Regions from separate parts of the Homo sapiens genome. Here all the other regions are linked to region 1. The links are contacts of gene promoters, found by promoter capture Hi-C in blood cells and fetal thymus (Javierre and others, 2016). All regions are on one chromosome and are shown on one strand. The core of a region is centred on a gene start or on the middle of the fragment in contact, and the rest is flanking DNA. Distances in the headings are between cores, read along the strand shown. Region 1 holds the start of LINC01531 (long intergenic non-protein coding RNA 1531). Region 2 holds the start of TYROBP (transmembrane immune signaling adaptor TYROBP). Region 3 holds the start of ZNF30 (zinc finger protein 30). Region 4 holds the start of KIRREL2 (kirre like nephrin family adhesion molecule 2). Region 5 holds the start of PRODH2 (proline dehydrogenase 2). Region 6 holds the start of SCN1B (sodium voltage-gated channel beta subunit 1). Region 7 holds the start of KMT2B (lysine methyltransferase 2B).

Region 1 (3,513 bases), core at 514-3,013:
AAATAAAACTTGTGGCTGGGAGCAGTGGCTCACACCTGTAATCCCAACACTTTGGGAAGCCAAGACAGGAGGATTGCTTGAGTCAAGGAGTTCAAGACCAGCCTGGGCAACACAGTGAGAGCCTTTCTCTACAAAACGTTAAGAAATTAGCTGGGCATGGCGGTGTGCACCTGTAGTCCTCGTTACTCTGGAGGCTGAGGCAGGAGGATCACTTGAGCCCAGGGGCTTCAAGGTTACAGTGAACCATGGTGGCACCACTGCAAACCAGCCTGGGCGACAGAACAAGACCCTGTCTCAAAAAAAAAAAAGTTTAAAAATGAATAAAATAATGAGGCCTTAACCTATGACAGATAGCATATCACCTGCTGGCCCATCTGTACATCTCATTCTGCATTCGAGAACTTCAGAAGTAGAGGACCAGATGAATGGGAGTGGCCCTGCCGCCACGGGGCTGAGCTCCACCGCTTTTGTCCTGCTCCTCCTCGCCAGGCCCTGACCATCTCTCCACTGACTTGTCCTGGCCCCTTTTCCATTTCTGTGGCCTCTTCCCTCTCCTCCTTGGAGAGTAGCCTGTCCTCTGCTCCCTGCATGCTCTCCTTCCATCCCGTCTCTTCCTGGGGTTATGATCCCAGCAACCTCTTCCCTGAGCCCAGGCGAGGTCAGGTCCCTTGCCTTTTCCTGCAGGTAGATGGGTGGGTTTTCAAAGATGTCTGGTTTCAGAAGCCGGTGGCATCTTGTCTAACTGGACCACCTTTTCCTTTTCCACCAACGGCAGGCTTTTATACCTGGAAGAGTCATGTGGTCAAAAAGAGGAAAGTCAGTGGTTGAGCTCTTTCTAAAGCAGCTTGACCTTCTGGGTCTCCCACCAGATTTTGTCCCCAACAGACTTATTTCACCCAGAGTCCAATTTTTTTTTTTTTGAGGCAGAGTCTTGCTCTATCACCCAGGCTGGAGTTTAGTGGTGCGATCTCAGCTCACTGCAACCTCTGCCTCCCTAGTTCAAGTGATTCTCCTACCCCAGCCTTCCAAGTAGTGGGATTACAGGTGTGCAACACCACGCCCGACTAATTTTTGTATTTTTTGTAGACAGGGTTTCACCATGTTGGCCAGGCTAGTCTCGAACTCCGAACCTCAAGTGATCCGCCTGCCTTGCCTCCCAAAGTGCTGGGATTACAGGCGTGAGCCACTGTGCTCAGCCCAGAATCCAAATTTGAACAGTTTTTTCAGGCTTCCTCCTCCCCCTACATTCCAAGAGGTTGAATTCTGTTTCCTTCCCATGGGCAATTATCCCACACGACTACACGCACATCCATCTCTCACTTCCGCTTTTTCTTTCTTTCTTTCTTATTTTGTTGTTGTTGTTTTGAGACAGGGTCCCACTCTGTTGCCCAGGCTAGAGTTCAGTGGTGCAATCGCGGCCCACTGCAGCCTTCACCTTTCGGGCTCAAGTGATCCTCACACCTCAGCCTCCCGAGAAGCTGGGCCACAGGTGCACGCCACTGCATCTGGCTAATTTTTTGTATTTTTGGCAGAGACGGGGTTTCACCATGTTACCAAGAGTTGTCGAACTCTTGAGCTCAGGCAGTCCACCCGCTTTGGCCTCCCAAAGTGCTAGGATTACAAGTGTGAGCCACCATGCCCAGCCCCAAGTTTGTTTTTAGAAAAAAAAACCTAGCATTGTCCCTTGCCTATAACAGACACTCAAATCCTTGTGGAATGTAAGGATGGAGGTTGGATGTGCCTGTGAATACTTGCTAGCTGATGACACAAGCAAAGAATGTGTCAGAACCTGCGCCTTTTGTCTCCTGTCCTTTATCTGCATTCTGTTGCCCGGGTTACTGGTATGGGGACATCTTTGGTGCTGAGGTCTAGGTTCCAATGAGTCAAAGGGAGAATTCAAACTAAGTTGTCTGGCAGCACCCCAAGACTGTGCTGACCTCACACACAGCTGTATCACGGGAGTGGGCAGTGCATCATCTCAAATCCAACTCAACTGAGCAATGGTTCGGGCTGAGTCACACCATGTATGAATCGGGGGGCGGGGGTATGTGGCTCCTCTCCAACAAGCCACACTGTCTGCTTCCCTGTCACAAAACACATGGAGCCGTTACTCTGTGTGAGGTACTGTTCTAGGAGCTGGAGACAAGAGTGAACAGGATGAACAGAAAACAAGTAGACAAACCAACAAGGCAATTTTACAGGAAGAAAGGAAGTAGGCCAGGCAAGGTGGCTCACGTCTGTGATCTCAACGCTTTGGGAGGCCCAGGCAGGAGGACTGCTTGAGGCCAGGAGTTCAAAACCAGCCTGGTCAACATAGCGATACCCCGTCTCTACAAAAAGTGAGATAAAAAGTCAGGCATGGTGGCTCACACCTATAATCCCAGCTACTTAGGAGGCTGAGGCAGGAGGAGGATTGCTTAAGGCTGGGTGTTTGAGACCAGCCTGGGCAACATAGTGAGATCCCCTGTCTCTACAAAAAAGGATAAAAATAAAAAATTAGCCAGGCATGGTGGTGCACACCTGTAGTCCTAGATACTCAGGAGGCTGAGGCGGGAGGATCACTTGAGCCTAGGAGTTGGAAATTAAAATGAACTATGATGGCACCACTCCAATCCAGTGGTCCTGTCTGGGGGAAAAAAAAGGGAAAGAAAATAAATCGGCTAGGCGTGGTGGGGTTCATGCCTGTAACCCCAGCACTTTGGGAAGCTGAGGCGGGCACATCACTTGAGGTCAGGAGTTTGAGACCAGCCTGGCCAACATGGTGAAACTCTGTCTCTACTAAAAATACAAAAATTAGCCAGGTATGGTGGCGGGCACTGGTAATCCCAGCTACTCAGGAGACTGGGGCAGGAGAATCACCTTAACCTGGGAGGCAGAGATTGCAGTCAGCCGAGATCATGCCACTGCACTCCAGCCTGGGCGACAGAGGAAGACTCTGCCTCAAAAAAAAAAAAAAAAAAGGACCAAAAATCAAACAACAACAACAACAACAACAAAAAGCAAGCAGGGAAATTGAGAGAGAGAGAGAGAGAGATGGGCAGGGCCTGTCAGGAAAGGCCTGGGACATTTGAATGGGTGAGAAGGAGCCACTATCTGAAGAGCGTTCCAGGTAGGGGCACCAGCGGGAACTTAGCCTGAACCATGGCTCGGTTGAGTTGGACTTGAGATGTCGCACCGCCCACTCCCATGATGCAGCTGTACGTGAGGTCAACACAGCCTTGGGATGCTGCAAAACAGCTTAGTCTGAATTCTCCTTTTTTTTTTTTTTTTGAGACAGAGTCTCACTCTGTTGCCCAGGCTGGAGTGCAGAGGCGATCTCGGCTCACTGCAACCTCCATTCTCCTGGGTTCACGCCATTCTCCTGACTCAGCCTCCTGAGTAGCTGGGATTACAGGCACTCACCACCACACCTGGCTAATTTTTGTATTTTTAGTAGAGATGAGGTTTCACCATATTGGTCAGGCTGGTCTCGAACTCCTGAGCTCAGGTGATCAACCCACCTTGGCCTCCCAA
Region 2 (3,513 bases), core at 265-2,764, 500 kb before region 1:
TGCTCCAACACATTGGGTGGCCTGGTGTGCCCGGGAGGACCTACAGGGTCTGTTCCCTCCATGCTCGCTCTAGACACAATGGGAGAGGCTTGGGTTTTTAAGGGAGGGGACTCAGCCAGGCCTGAACAGTGGTGACCGTGGGCTGAGCTGGGACCTGACCCTCCTCCAGGCTCCAAATCTCCTCTCCTCCCTTCCCCCACAGGCCACTGGGCATCTGCCCTGTGACCAGAATCCAGTTTCCCCTTTTTTCTCCTAAGCCCAGGCCCAAGGAGCGGTGGGTGTGACGTGTGGATGGGGGAGGGGGGCTTCCTGCAGCTGTCTCATCCTCCAGCACCCTAACCTCAGGTTCCTCCTTCCCCAGCCCCAGGCTCCAGCTGGGGGCTAGAAGTCCCCGTCTCCTTGGGGTGGCCTCCCTTGGGCCTTGCTCCCAGCCACTTCCTCATTCAGCAGGAGAGCCAGCCACCTGCCTCTCCCCAAGCCGCCAGCCGTGCCTCTGTGTCTGTGCCACTGCCTTACTCTCACCTTTCTCAGCTTTGCCGCTGTTTTCTCCTTCCCCATCTTTCATCTTTGTTTTTCCCCCTGACTCTTCCCTAGTCAAAAACCTGATTTTGGGTCTTGGGTTCCATTTCCACCTTGATTTGCTGTGCAGCCTTAGGCAAGCGTCTCTACCTCTCTGAACAATGGGGATGATAAGAGCATGTGCCCTAGAAGGGCATTGCGGGGACTGAATGATTTAACGCTTGGGACAGAGTGCCTGCATGTCATTAGTGCCCACATGCTGCTGGCTCTTTTAATATCCTTTAAACAGCACAAGTTTCTGATGATTAAATAATCATCATCATAGCTGATGCTTTTAAAAAGCTGACAAGGGTCAGACCCTGGTCTAGGAACTTTAATTCATTTAATCCCCACAACTCTAAAAAGTAGGTCCCATTTTACTCCCAATTTTACAGATGAAGAAACTGAGGTTGGAGCTGGGTGCGGTGGCTCACACTTGCAATCCTAGCACTTCGGGAGGCCAAGGTGGGTGGATCACCTGAGGTCAGGAGTTTGAGACCAGCTGGCCAACATGGTGAAACCCTGTCTCTACTAAAAAAAAAAGAAAAAAAAATACAAAAAATTAGCCGGGCATGGTGGCAGGCGCCTATAATCCCAGCTACTTGGGAGGCTGAGGCAGGAGAATCACTTGAACCCGGGAGGCAGAGGTTGCAGTGAGCCGAGACCGTGCCATTGCACTCAAGGTTGACCAGCCAGGAAGAGGCAGAGCTGGTTTCAATCAGCCAGAGGAAGGTCATGACACTGACCCTCCTGTTAAAACGATGTCTGACCCCTGACTGGGGACGGAGGTGAAGTTTGTGCTTCACGTACCCTTTGCCCTTCACGTCTAGTTGCTGGGGGCCTGTGGCATGGCCCCTGGGTGTCTGGGCCTGATTCTTTCTTGGGTTTTGTTTCTGTCTCTCCTCCCCTGTCTCCTCCTCCCTTCTGCCACCACCCGCCTCAGACTTCCTCCTTCACTTGCCTGGACGCTGCGCCACATCCCACCGGCCCTTACACTGTGGTGTCCAGCAGCATCCGGCTTCATGGGGGGACTTGAACCCTGCAGCAGGCTCCTGCTCCTGCCTCTCCTGCTGGCTGTAAGTGGTGAGTTAGGGGCTTCCGTGGCTGCCTCCCGGGTCCCTGGGCTCAGCTTGGGGCAGGGCAGGGAGTGGGGTGGAACGAGAGAACCAAAAGTGGGTGTTGGGATGGGAGCAGGTCCCCAACCTCCCAAAGCCTGTGGGTTTCTCCCAGAGCCCAAGCCCCCAAGTTTTGTCGTCCGCTACAAGCAGGGGAGAAGAGACATCTAAGTGTGTTGCCACAGGACAAGTTGTGCAGAAGTAACGCACATAGTCCGGTGGCCCAGACGCCAGCCCCCTGAGTCCCGCCAGACACGCTCTCCCCCTTGCTAACCTCTTGGCTGTCAGGATCCACCTTCCCTGGCTTCTAAACTTGCCTCCCCCACCCCCGTCATAACTCTGTGCCTCAGTTTACCTTCTTTTTCCTCCTCAGGTCTCCGTCCTGTCCAGGCCCAGGCCCAGAGCGGTAGGCCTAGACCCAGCAGTCCCTCTCTCTACCTCCCAGAGACCTCCCTGTCTCCGTCTCTCCCACACCCTTTCCAAACCTCCCTGCCGCTGACCCCCCTCCCCACAGTTCCCAGCACACACTGACCTCCCCTGACCCCTGTGCTGCAGATTGCAGTTGCTCTACGGTGAGCCCGGGCGTGCTGGCAGGGATCGTGATGGGAGACCTGGTGCTGACAGTGCTCATTGCCCTGGCCGTGTACTTCCTGGGCCGGCTGGTCCCTCGGGGGCGAGGGGCTGCGGAGGGTGAGTGGGGCTAGCAGGGGACATCCTGAGGACTTGCCTAGATGGGGGTGGGGGGCTGGGTAAACTCCCAGATCTCAAACATCCAAAGGGATGGTAATGGAGGTGCTGATTTGGAATGACAAAACACCCTCAACTCACCACTCTGCCTGTCTCTGCACCCCACAACACCCCTCACCTCCAGCAGCGACCCGGAAACAGCGTATCACTGAGACCGAGTCGCCTTATCAGGTGAGAAAACCAGACTGTCCTCCTCACATTTCACTCCTGCCAGGGATATCTGCCCCAGATACTCCTTCATGCCATCAGAGGGACCTCAAAGCCACTCTGCCTAAAGCACCCCCAAACCTTGAAGGCACATGGGACATCTGTCCAAAACTGGGCCGAATGATCAACCACAAGCTTATGGTCAGCTTAAAATGTGTGAAGAGGGGCTGGGCACGGTGACTCAAACCTGTAATCCCAGCACTTTGGGAGACAGAGGCGGGTGGATCACTTGAGGTCAGGAGTTCGAGACCAACATGGTGAAACCCTGTCTCTACTAAAAATACAAAATTAGCTGGGCGTGGTAACGCATGCCTGTAATCCCAGCTACTTGGGAGGCTGAGGCAGGAGAATCCTTTGACCCAGGAGGCGGAGGTTGCAGTGAGCCAAGATCACGCAATTGCACTCCAGCCTGGGCAACAAGAGGAAAACTCTGTCAAAAAAAAAAAAGCGTGAAGAGTTAAAAAGAAAAAAAAAAGGGTGGCTTTGCCTTTGTAAGTGTAAACACAGGCCTTGCCAGAAGTCAGGCCAGGAATTTTCTGGAAGAAACCCAGCCCTAGGACGACTGATTTCTGGGAGACGCTCTCAGTAGGGCAGAGAATGTCATTCAGCCCTACCTTGGTAACTCTAAAGAGAGGAGTCCTAGAATCTCTTTTTTGGGTTTGAGGACCCTTCATCCCTTTGAGAAACTAAGAAAATCTAGACTCCCAGAAAAATCTACACAAAAAATACAAAATTGTGCATATAATCTGAGAGCAGTGTAAATGTTCTTTATAATTAAAAAAAATTTTTTTTTGGCCAGGCATGGTGGCACACACCTGTAATCCCAGCACTTTGGGAGGCCAAGGTGGGTGGATCACGAGGTCAGGAGTTCAAGACCAGCCAGGCC
Region 3 (3,513 bases), core at 368-2,867, 480 kb after region 1:
TAAAATAGAACAACTATAATAGCATACTGTAATAAAAGTTATGTGAACATGGCCCCTCTCTCTCAAAATATCTTATTGTACCAAAATCACCTATTTTCAGATCATGGTTGACTGAGGGTAACAAAGTGAAGAAAGTGAAACTGCCGATTAAGGGGGCACTACTGCATTGGAGTTATTACGTAAACATTATACATCCTTTATTTCATTTTAATTAAACACTTGTTTCCACTTAATTTAATTTATGTATCTATCTATCTATCTATCTATATATATATATATATATATATATATATATATATTTTTTTTTTTTTAGAGAAGGGATCTCGCTCTGTCGCCCAGGCTGGATTGCGGTGGTGCCATCTCCACTCACTGCAACCTCCGCCGCCTCCCAGCTTCAAGCACTTCTCCCACCTCCGCCTCTCAAGTAGCTGTGACTACAAGCGCACGCCACCATGCCTGGCTAATTTTTATATTTTTAGTAGAGACGGGGTTTCACCATGTTGCCATGTTGGTGGTCTCGAACTCCTGAGCTCAGGCAATCCACCCGCCTCAGCTTCCCAAAGTGCTGGGATTACAGGCATGAGCCATGGCACCCGACCTGTTTCCACTTTTTACTTAAAACGTAAGTTTCTCTGGCATGCTTTCTTTTAATTCTAACTAAAAAATTAAGAGCAACTCTTCTTTAAAAACAAACAAATAAAAAACCAACAGAAAAGATTCTCTGACATTTCAATTTCCTCTGTCCCCTAGCAGCTAGAGAGAGAGAGCTACTGCTGTGGGATAATGCAAAATTGAAGAACCTTAAGAAAAAGCTGGGTCCTATTTCTGTGCAATATGGAGATTGATGGAAATGTTTACAGCTGTCATCTTGCTCTCCTTTCTTACATAATTTTGTCATTAGTTAAGTAATCTGCACAACAGATCCTTTGAAGTCCTTTTCCCTGCACTGATAATTTTCAGATGACATTGCTCTCATCTTTAAAAGGTGTAAATACTTTATACAGTTTTTTCCAAACAAGAAGAGGCTTCCTGGCAATCCCATTTCTTCCCGCTGCATGCAAAAGGTATCATAACTATCGTTTCCTTTTTAAACTGAGAGTTGAAGAGTCTTTTGCTCCTTTACATAAATCAATTACAGTGATTTTATCCAAAATAGTAACAAATATTAATAGCTCAGGTTCGCATGGAGGCCATGCACCCAGTCTTCGCGGATGCACACCGGCCCCGGCCGACGCACCCTCCCTGCCCTGCCGCTCCCGCACTCGCCGGCCCGGGATCCTCGCCCGGTCCACCCAACGCTCACGCATGTCTCAGTCCGGGTTCCGCGCCGACACAGGTCTGCAGAGCTCCCGGTGCTGTGTTCGTTTGCAGAAATTCAAGTTGCCCGGCGGGGCTGCTCCAACCTCGGAGCTGGGCGCTGACTTCTCCCTCGATGAACTCCAAAGCTCGCTGCCGGGTCAACGACCACAATGAACTGGCGAGGAGGCAGAGATTGAGGTCGTTCCAGTGGCCGCTGAGAAATGTAGTTTCAGGCTACATTGGCCGGATAGCTGCAGCCTCTGGGAAATGCAGTCCTGAGCCGTCACACCGCCGAGCATGCCCGGCGCAGTCCACAAGGCCGCCCACCGGCGCCCGGAGACTTCTGGGCGCTCCCGTCCGGCTGAGAATGCGCAGGCGCAGGCGCTCGAGTTGCTGGGAGCCATAGACCTCGAAGCTGGGGCGTCTGACACCTGAGGCCCGAAGTAGGTGGCCAGCTTCTTAGAGGGCCAACCCAGGGCATTAACACACCAGGTCAGAAAAAGCAAAAACAAAAACAAACAAAAAATGATAATCTATACCAAAATATGTTATTACTTTAACACAAAAATATGAAAACTAGGTGTTTGAAATTATCTTTCCGTACTGTTTGCTTTTCGCTACAGAAATGCTATTATTTAACAGAATATTAATAGGATTAATAGTGGCAATTAGACTAATCACGTGTGAGAAAAATATATTTCTGTCCTCTGATACAGGAATTTTAAGTTTCTATTAAATATTTAAATTTTGTGGGTTCTATCTAAGATGCTAAATGTAAGACCTTTTAAAAGGAGAATGTAAATAAGGCTAATCAAACAGATATTAACTATATGTAATAGGCATTTATCTTTCTGTCCCATCATACGTTTAGGAGATATTTACTCTTTCTGGTTCCTTTTCCAGTAACACCTCTCTGTATTAGCTGCCTGTAGCCTTTATGGCATTCTTCTTTTGGTTTATGTAATGCTAAAACTGAATACAGGCAAACGTGAAATTCACCTTGACTGTCAGCTCCGCTTTTTGTTTGTTTTGTTTTTGTTTTGTTTTGAGACAGGGTCTCCCTCTGTCGCTCAGACTGGAATGCAGTGGCGCTATCTCGGCTTACTGTAACCTCTGCCTCCCAGGTTCAAGTGATTCTCCCACCTCGGCCTCCAGAGTAGCTGAGACTACAGGGGCGCGCCACTACACCTGGCTAATTTTTGTATATTTTTTGTAGAAATGGGGTTTTGCCATCTTGCCCAGGCTAGTCTCGAACTCCTGGGCTCAAGCGATCCACCCGCCTCAGCCTCCCAAAGTGCTGGGATGACAGGGTGAGCCACCGCGGCCAGCCGAGCTCTGTTCTTATTAAGCCCACATTACAGTGATTCCTGGAGTCAGTCCAGGGTGATGACATTGATAAGGAGGTGGGGAAGGGGAGTGCTGGGGAGGGAAGGGCGGGGTCCCTTTAAATGATATGGAAGGGGGAAAGGGAGGTGCTGGGTACAGGAGGGTGTGGTCCCTGGCTAGGGCTCCACCCCTGGCCCTGTGCCAACTGACCTAGGTGAGGGCAGGCATTTTTGTTTTCCTGCCCAAATGTTGCGTTTCCCAAGACCACCCTGGCCTGCCACGCCCCCATCCTGTTCCCGCCCCCATCCTGTCCCTATAAATACTCTGAGACCCTAGCAAGCAGACACACAAGCCGCTGGACATCCAGAGGAACATGTTGGCGGAAGAAGACATGACAGACGCTGGCACGCGGGCAGGCCACCCACCAGAAGGACGCGGAGTTTGGCTGGGGCAGTCCAAGGAGAGCCGGTGCTGCGGAGCAGCCCGATTCCAGGGGAAAACCATTTCCCTTCTGGCTCCCCCAACTGTTGAGAGCTACTTCCACTCAAAACCCTGCAGTCATCCTCCAAGCCCATGTGTGATCTGATTCTTCTGGTACACCAAGACAGGAACCCCGGGATATGAAAGCCCTCTGTCCTTGCGATAACGCAGGGATCTAATTGAATTGACTAACATAAGCCGCCTGCGGACAGCTAAAGAGCATCCTGTAACACGCCCACTGGGGCTTCAGCTATAAACATTCACCCCTAGACACTGCCATGGGGTCAGAGCCCCACAGCCCGCCCGTCTGTATACTCCCCTGGAGGTTTGAGCAGCGGGACACTGAAGAAGCGAGCCACACCCCCATCGCACGCCCTGCCAGGGGGACAAGGGAACTTTTCTCTTATC
Region 4 (3,513 bases), core at 343-2,842, 450 kb before region 1:
TTCATATGATGCTTCATCCTCTAGCTCCACGGGCCTAATGTGGAGGTCATGCTGGCCATTGGCTGCATTCCCTGATATCCAGTACCGGGACCACCCTGGAGTCAGGGAGAAGGCAGTCAGCACACCATGGTTCTGAAATCCTGGCCTCAGGCCTCCATCCCCAGACATCCTCCACCAGAAAACTGGCCCACACATTTGGTGGTAAGACACTATTAAAAAGTGTGTACTGGGCCCAGAGAGACTCTAACTCCCTCCCAACCCAGAGTCACTGCAAACTTAGGGGTAATAAAGTCAGGAAGGAAAGCAAGAAAATGATTGCCATAAAAATTAGGTTAGATACTACTTCTGGAGTGAGGGGGAGGGGGCTATGATAGGGGAAAGGAACACGGGGTCTTCTGGGGAGCTAGCAATGGACTTGGGTATTGGCTGTGTGTGTCTATTTTATTTGGTAAATCTTCCATTTATATTTACTGTACTTTTTTGCATTTATGTTCTCTTTTTTTTTTTTTTTTGAGACAGGGTCTCACCATTGCCTGAAGTGCAGTGGCTTGATCATGGCTCACTGCAGCCTTGAACTCCTAGGCTCAAGCAATCCTACCACCTAAGCCTCCTGAGTAACTGGGACTATAGATGCACACCACCATACCCGGCTAATTTGTTTAAAATATATATATACATTTGTGTAGAGATAAGGTCTTGTTATGTTGCCCAGGCTGGTCTCAAACTCCTGGTTTCAAGCGATCCTCTGGCCTCAACCTCCCAAAGCGTTGGGATTACAGGCGTGAGCCACTGCACCTGGCCTATGTACTATTTTGCAATAACATAATAATTCCCAAACTCCGTGGGTCACCCCCAAAGAAGCAGCTCAAAAATCAGGACTCCTAAATGTTTACCCGAGCCCATCAATTTCCCAAACTTGAAAATGTCAAAATAGAAACTGCAGGTACAGCCGAGCCCAGCAACTCTCCCCCTAGCCAGCCCGTCCCAGCGTGGAGAGAACACTCTTACCTGGTAGGTCCCTTTGGCCCCCTAGGGCCAGCCCACTCTTAGTCCACTGAACTAGCCCCCAGTAGGCGCCCAGAGCACACGGCAGCCGGGCTTCCTCCCCCAGCAGCACCACCAGGTCCTCTGGCTGTTGCAGGAAATGGGGCGACGGGCCTAGGAGAGTTCGGGGCAGCAGGGCTGAGCTTAGCACCTTCAGGGGCCTCCTCATTCAGGACCCAGGAGTCCCAGCCCCCAGCTCCCTTCTCGCTAGTGAAGAGGCAGCCCGCAAGCAACTCCCCACCCCCACCCCATATTCCTCCGCTCCCCTCGTGCGGTACCTGCTCTCCCTCTGAAGCAGAAGAGGAGGACGAGGAGGGCGGGGACCCGCATCCTGAGCATTCGTCCCCCAAGGTTCACGAGATTTGCCGTCGCACTGGCCTTCCCGTCAACTTCTTCCTCTCAAGCACGCCTCCTGTCACCCTGGCCCGGAGCCCCCTTCACGCTCGACTCTTCGCCCAGCCTAGTCTCTGGCCTGGAGTCCTCCAAGTCTGCTCATCCGCAGCCTCTGACGCTCTGAAACGCCTGCCAGTTCCGCGGCCTGGGTCTCTGGGAGACCCCAAGAGGGCCCGATCCCGCTCGCCCCGCCCGGGTCCGCCCCCCGGGAGCTCCGCCCTCTTCCCGTTGAGAAACTCCCGCGGCTGAGACGCGGATGAATGGGGGACGCAGGGCGGGATCCCCCGGCGGGTGGGCGCCCCCAGCTCAATTGGGGTCTGGGAGCCGGAACACCTGGGTTCGAGGAGGGAGGGGGTCCCGGCTGGGTTGGACACCTGCGCCCTGCCGGGGTTGAGGGGCAGGCAAGGGGTGAGGAGGAGGGAAGGGAGAGAGTGGAAGAAACTTGCTCAGCCCAGGTCCTAGAGGGACTGCGCTCAGTGGAAACTGAGCTATAAATGGGAGCTCCTGGGGCCTCGCCAGTTTCCGCGCCCTGGGGGATGCGGGGTCCGGGGCTCCCCCGGGCCTGCGTGTCGGGAAGAGGGCACACCGATACCTGGGGGACAGTTGGGACCCCTACCTCGACTCCCCCAGCCTCAAAACCCCTCCTCAAAATATCCCTCTGTTCCCTTGTTATTGCTGCAAACTACAGCACGTCCTAAGACCCAGGAATCCAGGCCCTCGGCCCCTCCTTTCCCAGGACCCCGCAGTCCCAGCCCAACCCCTCTCCCCACTCGGCCGGCCGGGCCCCTCGGCCTGGTTGCCCGGCGACGGCTGGGAGGCGGCGGTGCCGGGCCGGGGCAGGCAGGGAGGCTGGGAACCGCGCAGCTTGTCCTGACGGCTCCATGCAGCCCAGCTGGGGCGTTCCCACGCTGCGCAGCTGGCCGAGCAGGTGGGAGGGACCCCGAGCAGCCTGAAGGAGGGCTGGGGGGCTGGGACCCTGATCTGACATTCCTGGACCTGTAAGAACTGGAGGGTCCACATTCAGATTCTCCACTGTTCTTAGGCTCAGACTCCGTGTCCCTAAATGGGGGAGTGGGGTTGGGAGTGGGGGTTGGACTTACAGGGTTATAAGGGACTGGTGGTTCAGGCCTTTGCTGGCTGAGACGCTGATGGCCTGATCTCCCGGTTCCTTGAGAGGCTGGAGACTCAAGGTGCACTCAAGTGCATGGTGCACTTGGAAGAGGGTGACAGGGGTCAGAATATCTGGTCTTAAGTCTTAAGAGTCGGTGGATCTATCTGCCAATCTCTCCCCACCCCCACACAGGCCCAGGAGGATTTGGAAATCAGACCGTGAACATCTGTCCTAAGTCCTGTGTGTATGTGTGTGTGTGTGTGTGTGTGTGTGTGTGTGTGTGTGTGTGTGTGTGTGTATGGGGAGGTGCGGGGGTGGGTAGTGTGGCCAGGAGGATCAGAGGCCCAAATTCCCGAGTCCTTGGAGAGAAGGGACTGAGACCCCAGGGTCTGAGAGGGGAGGGATCTGGGGGCCTACACTCCCGGCTTCTGTGTGGCTTATCTAGTGCCTGGATTTTGAAATAGGATGGACATGGGGCTGGAACTCCTGAGTCTTAGGGAGGAACTCAAGTCATGGGGCTGTTTTTCCAGGCACTTGACGCCGCTTCCCCTTCCTGGCTCTCTGGGGCTACGGACATGGAAAGATGGAGAGCCCAAGGTCCCAGGAGCATGCAGAGAAGGAAAACAGCCAAGGTGGAGGGTGGAAGGTTTGTGCTTATTAAAGGCCCCAGCAAGGGACAGCTCCACGCTCTGGCACCTAGGGACACCATCTGGCGAGGGCCCCCAGGACAGAGCCACTCCCCCAGCTCGGCATCCAGCCCATTTCCCAGGGGGTGTAGAGAGCAGTTGGGAGAGGGGAGGTGGGAGGAGGGCAAGGAGTCAAGCATGTGAGGGAAGATGGAAGTCCAGCATCGAGGATGAAGCTGGGGGCTGAGGCCAGATGCCTCATCTTGTTCCTGGGAACGATATTGGCGGGGGTCTTGGGGAGGTAGGGAGAAAACTAGCATTTCCAATTCCCGCAGGAGA
Region 5 (3,513 bases), core at 547-3,046, 410 kb before region 1:
CTCTGTCTCAAAAAAAAAAAAAAAAAAAAAAAAAGACCTAGGACTTCACGCCTGTAATCCCAGCATGTTGGGAGGACAAGTAGGGTGGATCACTTGAGGTCAGGAGCTCAAGACCAGCCTGGCCAACATGGTGAAACCCCATATCTACAAAAATACAAAAATTAGCCAGGTGTGGTGGTGGGTGCCTGTAGTCCCAGCTACTCAGGGGGCTAAAGCAGAAGAATCACTTGAACCCGGGAGATGGGGGTTGCAGTGAGCCGAGATCGCACCACTGCACTCCAGCCTGGGTGACAGAGCAAGGATACGTCTAACAAAACAAAACAAAAAAATTAAGACATATGGTTTCCATTTTAAAAAAAGAAAATAGGATATAGAAGTCCCCATATCCCTCTACCCCATTACAATTCCTCCCATCCCCCACAATCAACCACCTCTCTGACTTCTGTGATAATCATGTCCTTACTTTTCTTGTCCTCATAGTTTGACCACCCACGCATGTATTCCCAACATTTTACTGCAGTTTCACTTTCCTTGCTTTTATATTTATTGAAAAGTATAGACCAGCCACAGTGGCTCATGCCTGTAATCCCAGCACTTTGGAAGGCTGAGGCGGGCAGATCACCTGAGGTCGGGAGTTCAAGACCAGTCTGACCAACATGGAGAAACCCTGTCTCTACTAAAAATACAAAATTAGTGGGGCGTGGTGGCACATGCCTGTAATCCCAGCTACTCTGGAAGCTGAGGCAAGAGAATCGCTTGAACCCGGGGGGTGAAGGTTGCAGTGAGCTGAGATTGTGCCATTGCACTCTAGCCTGGGCAACAAGAGTGAAACTGTGTCTCAAAAAAAAAAAAAAAAAAAAAAAAAAAAGAATAATACAGCTTGCCCTGTTTGGTGTCTGGCTTCTTTCACTTGACATTGTGAGATTCAGCCACACAGTTGTGTGTATCAGTATCCATTCTTTTTCATTACTGTATAGTATTCCATTGCATAACTACACCACCATATATGTATCCATTCTCCTTTTGATGGACATTTGGGTAGTTCAGACACTGCTCCTCTGAACATTCTTTCCTGTACATGTTTCCTGCTGTCCATGTTTAAGGTCTCTAGGATATGTACTTAGCATGGAACAGCTGGGTTATATAGGTTATTTGTCTTTTCTTTTTTCTTTTTTTGGCGACAGAGTCTCACTTTGTCACCCAGGGTGGAGTGCAGTGGCACAATCACAGCTCACTGCACCCTTGACCTCCCAGGCTCAAGAGATCCACCTTCCTCGGCCTCCTGAGTAGCTAGGACCACAGGTGTGTGCCACCACACACAGTTAATTTTTGTATTTTTTGTAGAGATGGGGTCTCACTATGTCGCCCAGGGTAGTCTCAAACTCCTCGGTCTTGGCCTCCCAAAGTGTTGGGATTACAAACGTGAGAACCGTATTTTCAAATGTATTCAATAACACTACAGCGTTTCCAATTTTAAGAGGAAGCAATTGCCACAAAAGTGATTAAGTAGCCTGTCCTGGATCACAAAGCCCGGTGTCCTGAGCCCAGGGATCCTTGCTCCGGAGCCCCTGCTTTCCCCAGCACATGGTGGTTACCTAATAAGTGCAGGCTGTTGTGCTGAGCATTCTTGGGGGCTGTTACTGGGGTTCACCTCCCGTTTCCGTTACTCTGAACTCTGTCCCCATTTGTTAATAATTAATTGCCCCCAAGGAGCCTGTGATCCTGAGGCTTTGCCCAGTTAATCAGTCACTGCCCCTGGTCTGGGCAAGGGGCAGTTGGTGAACTTGCTGCCTCCAGAGAACCTTCCCTGGTGTGGAGGCAGCCAGGGACCCAGGATGCTCCGGACCTGTTACGTGCTCTGTTCCCAAGCTGGTCCCCCCTCCAGGGGCTGGCAGTCCCTGAGCTTTGATGGCGGGGCCTTCCACCTTAAGGGCACAGGAGAGCTGACACGGGCCTTGCTGGTTCTCCGGCTGTGTGCCTGGCCCCCACTCGTCACTCACGGGCTGTTGGTGAGCAGTGATCCTGAGGACCAGCCTGGAGGCTCCTCATAGCCTGGCGCTGAGCCCTCGCTCCCTGTCACCCAGCTCCAGGCCTGGTCTCGGCGACTCCTGGGCTCCCGGCTCTCAGGCGCATTTCTCCGAGCATCCGTCTATGGGCAGTTTGTGGCTGGTGAGACAGCAGAGGAGGTGAAGGGCTGCGTGCAGCAGCTGCGGACCCTCAGCCTCCGACCACTGCTGGCAGTGCCCACTGAGGAGGAGCCGGACTCTGCTGCCAAGAGTGGGTGAGTAGGGAGCCAGGGCCCAGGGAGGCTGGGAGGACGCAGGAAGGGGCTTTGCTGTTCGGGCCCTGACACCTGCTGGCTGGGCAGTGAGGCGTGGTATGAGGGGAACCTCGGTGCTATGCTGCGGTGTGTGGACCTGTCACGGGGCCTCCTGGAGCCCCCCAGCCTGGCTGAGGCCAGCCTCATGCAGCTGAAGGTGACGGCGCTGACCAGTACTCGGCTCTGTGTAAGGAGTGCAAAGACGGGGGTGCGGGGAGGGCGCGGCTGCCCATCGGGCTCCCCTCACCACCCCGCCTACCACCCCATTTCAGAAGGAGCTAGCCTCGTGGGTCAGAAGGCCAGGAGCCTCCTTGGAGCTGAGCCCCGAGAGGCTGGCTGAAGCTATGGACTCTGGGCAGGTAAGGATCTCAAGCGGGACTGTCGGGGACAGAGTGCCTTGGACTTAGATGCGGCCACACCGCACGCCAGATGTTCAAAATGCTACGGCCACCTCCAGGCTTGGAACAGCCAGCAGAAGTGCAGCTGTAGCTCCCAGGCATGGTTGAAATGGATGGAATCAGGGTCATCTGGGTTCTCAGGGAGGAGCCTGGAGGCTGGAGGCTCTCAGAGGAGGGATTGGGATAGAAGCTGTTTATCAATTAGAAGGAGGTACATCAGTGTGTTCTCAGTCAACACAGCTGCATGGGTGTGAGCTGGCTGGGTGTAAGTTCTGATTAGGCCAATGGGGTCTTAGTTTGTTCATTCAATCATTAATTCCTTTTTATCTCCACATTCTCTTTCAACCCTACTCCATCTTTTTTTCTTTCTTTCTCTCTCTCTCCTTCCTTCCTCTTCCTCTTTTGCTCTCTCTCCTTCCTTCCTTCTTTTCTTTTTCCTTCTCTCCCCTCCCTCCCTCCCTCCCTTCCTTCCTTCCTTCCTTTATTCCTTCCTTCCTTCCTTCTCTCTCCTCCCTCCTCTCTCTCTCTCTCTCTCTTTCTCTTTGTCTTACTGTATTGCACAGGGTGGTCTCTAACTCATGGCCTCAAGCAATCCCCCAGCCTCAGCCCCCCAAAGTTCTGGGATTATAGGTGTGAGCCACCACACCCAGCCTGCCGTCTTGTATAATGCATATCTTTTTGTTTCTATGATTTTGTTTTGCCAGGTGTATACCATTCGTGGGGGGCATATTTTCCCCAATATTCTATTATAAAAATTTTCAAATATACAGAAAAGTAAAAAGAATTGTACATGAA
Region 6 (3,513 bases), core at 249-2,748, 380 kb after region 1:
CCCTGTGTGAGCCATCCCCTCCCCGGCCTCTCCTGCCTCCATCATCCCCTCTTCCCCAGGCTCCTCGCCTCTAGAGCTCTTCCCACCCCAACCCCATCCACTACTCAAAGCTTTCCTGAGCTCTCTCCTGCCCCAGGGCTTTTGCAGCCCACTGAATTCCAGTCTTAGAATTCCTTCACACTCTTACCTGGCACCTCCTTTCTGCCTCCCAGCACTCTGTAGCTAACGCTGTGTCTCTTCTGCTGCAGCCCTGTGCTGTCCTTGTTTCCTGATCCTCAGGACTTCTCATCCATCCGCCTCCCCTGCGGTCCCTTTCAGACTCCCTGAGGGCCTCTGTCTCAGTCCCTCCTATCTTTGTCCCTCTCAGGGGTCTCTCTGAAGGTCCCTCCACTTTTTGTCCACTCTCTGGGCTCAGAAGGAGACCTCTCCTAATCTCTTTCCACCTTTCTACGTCTATCCCTTTTCAAACTCCATGCAAGATTCTCTCCCGGTGTTCACGGGCACCCGCATCTCCCTCTCTCTTCTCTCCATCTCCTTCTGCCTTTCTCAAGTTTCCCTTTCTCCATCGCGCTCAGTCTCTTAACTCTCTCTCTCTCTCTCTCTCTCCAATACCCCTCTCTCTGTCTCCGTCTCCCCCTTGACCCCCATGTCCCCAGCATCCCAGCGGACCACTCCGGTGCGCTCCGAGTCCTTCTCTGTCTCTCGCCCCCTTCCTCCCGTCTTCATCTCTCCCTGTCCCTCCGTCTTTCCCGTCCCAGTCTCCGGGCGCCGCCTTCCCCCCACCCCCCTCCCGCGGCTGTGGGTGTCACATTGCAGCCTGCGGGGCTCCGGGAGCAGCTGACTCCGCGTTTCCTCGCCCCCGGCTGGGCGCCTGCAGCCGCCAGGCTGTGCCAGCCCGGCCCCCACCCGCTGGAGCCCACCCTCACCTCCACTGCCCTCCCCAAGCCCGGCTCCCGCGCGCACAACTTCTGAAGCTGACTTGGCGGGGCCCGGGGATGGGCCGGGGGTGGCCCTCGCGCGGCTGCCCCGTGTCCCGAGCGCCACTCCCGCCGCCCCGCCAGTGCCCCCGCGGTGCCCCCCGGCCGCGCGCGCCCCCCGCGCACTCACCCAGTGCCGCGCCGACCACTAAGGCCAGCAGCCTCCCCATGGCTGCGCGGCGCGTGCTGCGCCCCCCTCCCGGGCCGCCGGTATTAATAGCGGGGCGAGAGGCGGCGGGACCTGGCGGCGGTTAGAATGTCCCCGGGAGCGCGCGGGCGCAGCAGCTGCGGCTCTGGGACCGGCGAGGGGGGAGGAGGGGGGGCGCGGCCCCCCCGCTCCGGTTACCGCCGGGGGCCCAGCCCCGGGGCCCGGCGTCCGGGCATCCCCGCCGCGCGGGCGGCGGCCGCTGCTCGGGCTGCTGCGCTGGCGCGCGCAGCCGGGCACATCCGCTAGGTGCACCGACCCCGGTCCCGCTCCGGCTCGGGCGCGCTCGGGCGCGGACCGCGGTCTCCTGCGCACTGCAGCGGCGGCGGCGGCGGCGGCGGCGGCGGCCTAGGGAGGGACGAGGGAGGAGAGGGAGGGGGCGGGATGAATCACCGCGGGGGGAAGGCGCGGCCGCCCAGCCTTTGCCGCAGCGGCCCGGGAGGCGCCCGCTGCACCGGCCTCTCCGGGTGGCGCAGGGACCGCGACTTCTGGGAACGGGGAGGGTGGTCTGTGTGTCTCCGACCCCGCTGGGGCTCTGAGGACCACCCCCCCCCCCCCACCTTCCCAGGGAGTCTGGAAAGGTCACCCCCAGAGTCACAGGAGGACTTAGAGCGCAGTTTGGGGGCCGGGTTTCCGACTTCAAATGATGGAGGTCATCCTCAGGAGTTCCAGAGGGCGAACCTCCAAGTTATCTCCCCTGAGCCCTGATATCCAGGCCTGGGGGTCAATGTGCAGGGACCCCAAGTAGGCATTAGAGGAGGGTGGGGGGCCGTCAGGCTAGGACTACAGCTACAATCCGGACCTCACCCAAGCAGGCGGGGCACCCTGGAGAGAAGCAGCCCCGGGAATCTGGAGGTGCTGTTTCAGGAGGAGGACCCCTTCGTGATCCCCTGCACCCATTTATGTCCCTGATGTCACCTTCTACCCCTCTTTCCTCCCACTCCACTCTGGCTGTTCAGGCCCTCCTGCTGTTCCCAACACAGGGAACCCGTTCCTGCCTCAGGGCCTTGGCCCCAGCTCTCCCCTCTGCCCCGGCTCTCCCCCCCTGCCCCGCCCCTCTCCGTGGGCCTCCATGGCTCCAATGTCACCTTCGTCAGGTCTTCTGTGTCCCTTCAGGGTAAACTGCCTTCCCCGCTCCTAACCTGACCTCCTTTACTCTTTACCTCTTGTTGAGTGTTTTCCACAGCAGCCTCACTACCTGACATTATGTTCTTTTTTTTTTTTTTTTTTTTTTTTTTTTTTTGAGATAGGGTCTGGCTCTGTTGCCCAGGCTGGAGTGCAGTGGCTGATCTCGTCTCACTGCAACCTCCGCCTCCCGGGTTCAAGCGATTATCCTGCCGCAACCTCCCAAGTAGCTGGGAGTACAGGTGTGCACCATCATGCCTGGCTAATTTTTTTATTTTTTAGTAGAGACAGGGTTTCACCATGTTGACCATGCTGGGATTACAGATGTGAGCCGCCCCCCGCTATCCCAGCACTTTGGGAGGCCAAGGGGGGCAGATCACCTGAGGACAGGAGTTCGAGACCAGCCTGACGAGCATGGTGAAACCCCGTCTCTACTAACAATACAAAAAAAATTAGCTGGGAGTGGTGGTGGGCACCTGTAATCCCAGTTACTTGGGAGGCTGAGGAAGAATCGCTTGAACCCGGGAGGCAGAGGTTGCAGTGAGCCAAGATCGCATCACTGCACTCCAGCCTGGGCAACAAGAGCGAAACTCCGTCTCAAAAAAAAAGGCCGGGCGCAGTGGCTCACGCTTGTAATTCCAGCATTCTGGGAGGCCGAGGTGGGCGGATCACGAGGTCAAGAGATCGAGACCATCCTGGCCAACATGGTGAAACCCCATCTCTACTAAAAATACAAAAATTAGCTGGGCGTGGGGGCACATGCCTGTAGTCCCAGCTACTCAGGAGGCTGAGGCAGGAGAATCGCTTGAACCCGGGAGGCAGAGGTGGCAATGAGCCGAGATCACACCACTGCACTCCAGCCTGGTGACAGAGTGAGACTCCATGTAAAAAAAAAAAAAAAAAAAAAAAAAAAAAATCTCCCAGGTGAGGATATTGTCTTGTGTCTCTTGCACCTTGAACTGTTCCTGGCACATTGTAGGTACTCAATCAATATTTGTCAAACAAATAAATGAATGCCAATGTTCACTAAGTCCTTGGGATTTGCAGAACCCACTTCTACTGCCCCAAACCTTCAGCAAGTTCTATTATCCCCATTTTACAGATGAAGAAACTGAGGCTGGGAGAGGGCCGTGCCCCTGCCCAGAGTCATGTAGCTGGCCTAGGATGGATGTGGAATCCTGCCCCAGCAGTGGTGAGTGGCCTGTC
Region 7 (3,513 bases), core at 744-3,243, 310 kb before region 1:
GGGGGTGGAGGGCTCACATGCCCGGCTCCGGGGTGCTTGGGGTGCCTGGGCCCGCCGGAGAAGTTCAGTCAGTGCCTGCACCATCCGTTCTGTGCCTTCCTCACCCCGTTTCCGGGCAGGGGTCTTTGGGGGGGTAGGAGCCACATCTGCTAGGCGAGGAGGAGGAAGGGGGGTCGTCTTATGCTTGCGACCCCGACCTCGGGGCGCTCGACCTAAAAGGAGAATAGTTGTGGGGAGATGGATCAAGCCAGCCCTACACACAGAGGAAGGCGCTCCAGGAGGGCAGGGACTAAGTCTTGCTTGTGTGTTTCCCCCGCTGCCCAGACTAGCTTGGACTCTGAACACAGAACACATTCGGCAACTGACAGAGGCTAGTTGAACAGGGAAGAGCTGACACGAAGGGCGAGGATAAATTCCTGTGACGCTAAAGAGGTGGAGTTCCCCCGTCACTCACCTCGCTGGGATCGGAGCGCAGAGCGCAGGGAACTGGGGGCCACATCTTCATCTGAATGAAAACCCTGAAACTCCTGATTTAGGGGACCGGGGTGGAGGGGAGAAACAGCAGTCAGTGCCAAAGCCCTCGTTCCATCTGAGGTATCGAGGAATATCCCCAGTTCCCACTTAGCATACCCCTGCCTATTTAAAAAGAACGAAAAAGACTCAAAGGTCGCGGGTAGTGGAAGAGAGGGTCTCTCCCTAGGGATGGAGGCGCCAGGTATTTCGAACTCCGATCCCCAGTGCCGGACCACACCAGCACAGCCAAAGCCATGGTTCACTGGCCCAAGAGAGAAGACGACAGGGTCTCCTCAGGAAAGGCAGCAGGCCCCATACTCAGATTCCTTCAGAGTCCAATTCAGACCAAAGTGGGACCTCCACTGACACCCTTTCGGGCCACAATTTATTTCTGCATTAAGTTGGGAACAGGGGCCCGCAAGTGAAGGGGCGGGGAGGGCATCAGATGGCTTTCGTACAGGCTCCACTGCGAGCTCTCAGGTTGTTATTAACCGTCCAGGGCAACGCAACCCACACCTTCCTGCCTGTTCTGAAAGGCTGGGGGAGAAATCCTGAGCTGAGCTCTGACCTGCTAGAGTGCCCAGTCCCGGCCTTCATCCCACTCCTGTTCAACCCGAGCCCCAAGAGGAAGCCCTCCACCACTCTACCTGAGATGCCAAGAGAAACTGGGGCCCTGGAGAAACCAGGAGGTTGCGAGGCCCGGCGGGGCGGCCCACAGGTAAGAGCCCAGACAGCTCCAACCTGTCTGCCAAGGCCACGCTGCCGCTGTCAACCACGACTGGCTGGACATGCAGTCCCCACTGCCTCCTCGCCCAAACCTCCACCGCCCTAGCTTTGCCAGCTGCCGAAAAGGATCGGCCCAAGACACTTCAGCGGGACCGACATCGGGCGCGAGTGCCTGGCTGCAGCCGGGGCTTCTCTACCCACTTCCAGAGGCCCTTTCCCCCGGAAGCTGCATGCAGCCGCCCTCCCTCCGTGCCCCGTCTCTCCGAAGGAACCCTGAGGACCCGGCCTGCCCACGCCGCCCCCGGGACAACCCAGACCCCTGGAAGCCCCGGCCTCCGCCCCACCCGGCGCCGGGGACGCCTCCAACCGCCTCACCTCCTCGTCGGATTCCCCGTCACTGCTCTCCTCCTCCGGCACGCAGCCTCGACTCGGGCCCCAGCCCCGGCCCCGACCCCGTCCCCGGCCCCGCTGGACCCGCGGGCCGGCCCACAGGCGGCGGAGCCGGCGCAGGCCCCGGCGGAGCCCCAGCAAACGGAGCAGGGCCGTGTCCTCCCCGGGCTCGGCTCCGCCCGGCCCCGTCGCGCCACCGCCGCGCCGCAGAGCTACCCGCACTCTTTCGGCCCCGTTGCCCCGTCCGCCGCGGCCCCCGCCCCCGCCGGCGCCCCGCGGCCGGCCCGGGAAGCGGCCCCGCGCGGAGCCAGGCCCGGGGCAACTGCCGCCGCCCGCCGCCGCCGCCATCTTGGCACCGTGAGAGGGGCCGGGGAGGCGGGGGGAGGGGCGGCCCGTGCGCAGGGCCGGGGGGAGGGGAGAGAGCGGGGGCGGGGCGGGGCGGCCGCGGCGCACGACAACAACCAGCGCCGCCGCGGGAGACCGGGGGCCGGGCCGGCCACGCGCAGGGCACCACGGGAGAGGGAGTCCGCGGCCGGCCGGCGCCCTCGGACCGCACCTGGGGAGCACAGACCCCCGCGTCGCGGCCGCAGAGGGGCGAACCGCGGGGGCCTCCGGGAAATGTAGTCCGGACGCCTCGCTTCTTCCGCCGGCAGCCAGGGCGCGAGGGCCGGGACGGCGGGGTTCCCGGCCAGGACCCGGAAAGCGGGTTGCCGGGTCTCCGGGAGGTGTGGTCCTAGCCCCAGGCTCCTCCCATTGTTCTTGGCTAGGCCGGCGGCCCGCGTGGACTACCACTCCCAGGGTGCCGCGGGCTCGGGCCCCGGGACCCCCGAGGCCCTGGGAAATGCAGTTCGCGGCTGCAGGAGGCGTGGGCTGGAGAAGGAGCGGTGGAAAGCATAGTCAGTCTCCGTTCCAGGCGCGACCTGGCGGCGGCTTGGCACGGTGTGGAGGGAAGACGCCGGAGAGGCCGCGGTCTCGGGGTCCGTGTGCTCCCGGAGAGGAGGCGGGTGGCCGAAAGCAGGGTCGGAGCACGCGTTCCTCTCTCTCCCGGGCCGAGCGTTCCCAGATCAGACTCCGCGCGCCGTGGATTGCAGTGGAAGGGGCGAGTGACTTGCGGTCGCACAGCCCCCACCAGTCCAGGACCGGCATGCCGCAAGGTGTGCCCGGACACCGAGTCCTCGGGGCCGGCTGCCTCCTGGGGAGGACGGGGCGCCTCGGGGGTGGAAGAAGTGTCCATCCCGCTGGACAGCGGACGCAGGGCCACCAGGGGCCGCTACAGGACAAGGGGCGTGGGCGGGGGTGTGCACAGACTAAACTCGGCTTTCTAGTCCTGAAGGGAGGGCACAGGAAACTCTTTATTATGGTGATGAGATCGACAATCTCCCCTACTGTTAACCTTCGCTCCTGCACACTTCAGTGTCCTCACTCTGTAGGGCTCGCTGGCCTGGGCTTCTGCGACCCGCGATCGTCCAGGAGAGGGCACTCGGCGCCCTTCCTGGGGCGCTTCTGGGGCGGAATTTGCTAGGCCGCCGTAGCAGCGGTGCCAGGTCAGAAGCCGAGCCGGCCCGCTTTTCGTTCTTTAATTGGACTCTTGGCTAAGACGCTACCGACACCCCGTCAGGTGGTGGAGGAAGAAGGACAACAGGGAGAGGTCGAGGGCCGAGACGGCCTCGAGGAGGAGTAGAGGAAGGTGGAGCGGATGGTCCATCCGGGCGGGAGTTGGCTGGGCGAGTGACCGCGCATGTGCGCCTGCATGGAGGCCAGGCTGGGACAGCCGGCCCCGCACAGGGAGCAGCGGTACGGAGCGGCCCCGTGTGTCCGCAGGTGCTTGGTCATGGCCGAGAAGTCCCGGGAGCGCTGAGGACAAAGGCTACAGGAGAAGGGCTT

The links. Contacts are between HindIII fragments. The CHiCAGO score rates a contact against its expected background, and 5 or more counts as called.
Region 2: a contact is called between the fragment with the promoter of TYROBP here and the fragment with the promoter of LINC01531 in region 1, in 3 of 17 cell types (total B cells, endothelial precursors and monocytes). The highest score is 7.0, in total B cells.
Region 3: the fragment with the promoter of ZNF30 here is called in contact with the fragment with the promoter of LINC01531 in region 1 in 9 of 17 cell types (total CD4 T cells, non-activated CD4 T cells, naive CD8 T cells and 6 more); the score reaches 14.9 in total CD4 T cells.
Region 4: the fragment with the promoter of KIRREL2 here is called in contact with the fragment with the promoter of LINC01531 in region 1 in 16 of 17 cell types (neutrophils, M2 macrophages, non-activated CD4 T cells and 13 more); the score reaches 20.6 in neutrophils.
Region 5: a contact is called between the fragment with the promoter of PRODH2 here and the fragment with the promoter of LINC01531 in region 1, in 9 of 17 cell types (neutrophils, M2 macrophages, total CD4 T cells and 6 more). The highest score is 8.1, in neutrophils.
Region 6: a contact is called between the fragment with the promoter of SCN1B here and the fragment with the promoter of LINC01531 in region 1, in 14 of 17 cell types (naive CD8 T cells, activated CD4 T cells, total B cells and 11 more). The highest score is 14.3, in naive CD8 T cells.
Region 7: the fragment with the promoter of KMT2B here is called in contact with the fragment with the promoter of LINC01531 in region 1 in 1 of 17 cell types (neutrophils); the score reaches 9.7 in neutrophils.

Annotation. Positions count from the first base shown.
Region 1 is chr19:35,403,857-35,407,369 of GRCh38, reverse strand. It overlaps LINC01531 (long intergenic non-protein coding RNA 1531), which reads right to left and starts at 1,763. Exons shown (of 5, transcript NR_040046.1): 1 at 1,689-1,763; 2 at 1-785. The HindIII fragment of the contact is 14,783 bases long and covers 1-3,513 here.
Region 2 is chr19:35,906,296-35,909,808 of GRCh38, reverse strand. It overlaps TYROBP (transmembrane immune signaling adaptor TYROBP), which reads left to right and starts at 1,514. Exons shown (of 5, transcript NM_003332.4): 1 at 1,514-1,641; 2 at 2,047-2,079; 3 at 2,229-2,363; 4 at 2,545-2,591. The coding sequence starts at 1,581. RefSeq lists enhancers at 1-107, 208-257, 408-537 and a silencer at 2,349-2,502. The HindIII fragment of the contact is 5,164 bases long and covers 1-2,764 here.
Region 3 is chr19:34,925,007-34,928,519 of GRCh38, reverse strand. ZNF30 (zinc finger protein 30) reads right to left here and starts at 1,617. Exons shown (of 5, transcript NM_194325.3): 1 at 1,304-1,617. It overlaps ZNF30-AS1 (ZNF30 antisense RNA 1), which reads left to right and starts at 1,694. Exons shown (of 3, transcript NR_110749.1): 1 at 1,694-1,791. The HindIII fragment of the contact is 20,354 bases long and covers 1-3,513 here.
Region 4 is chr19:35,854,990-35,858,502 of GRCh38, reverse strand. It overlaps KIRREL2 (kirre like nephrin family adhesion molecule 2), which reads right to left and starts at 1,592. Exons shown (of 15, transcript NM_199180.4): 1 at 1,323-1,592; 2 at 1,009-1,158; 3 at 1-95. The coding sequence starts at 1,383. The HindIII fragment of the contact is 4,263 bases long and covers 1-3,513 here.
Region 5 is chr19:35,811,128-35,814,640 of GRCh38, reverse strand. PRODH2 (proline dehydrogenase 2) reads left to right here and starts at 1,796. Exons shown (of 10, transcript NM_021232.2): 1 at 1,796-2,009; 2 at 2,085-2,281; 3 at 2,369-2,507; 4 at 2,593-2,679. The coding sequence starts at 1,836. The HindIII fragment of the contact is 7,636 bases long and covers 1-3,513 here.
Region 6 is chr19:35,028,455-35,031,967 of GRCh38, reverse strand. It overlaps SCN1B (sodium voltage-gated channel beta subunit 1), which reads right to left and starts at 1,498. Exons shown (of 6, transcript NM_001037.5): 1 at 1,108-1,498. The coding sequence starts at 1,147. RefSeq lists silencers at 921-1,029, 1,369-1,528. The HindIII fragment of the contact is 5,241 bases long and covers 113-3,513 here.
Region 7 is chr19:35,716,483-35,719,995 of GRCh38, reverse strand. It overlaps KMT2B (lysine methyltransferase 2B), which reads right to left and starts at 1,993. Exons shown (of 37, transcript NM_014727.3): 1 at 1,615-1,993; 2 at 455-527; 3 at 1-212. The coding sequence starts at 1,977. It overlaps ZBTB32 (zinc finger and BTB domain containing 32), which reads right to left. Exons shown (of 7, transcript NM_014383.3): 7 at 2,958-3,513. The coding sequence ends at 3,244. RefSeq lists silencers at 1,559-1,608, 1,659-1,738, 1,779-1,848, 1,869-1,918, 1,999-2,478 and enhancers at 1,204-1,761, 3,049-3,328, 2,881-3,440. The HindIII fragment of the contact is 14,363 bases long and covers 1-3,513 here.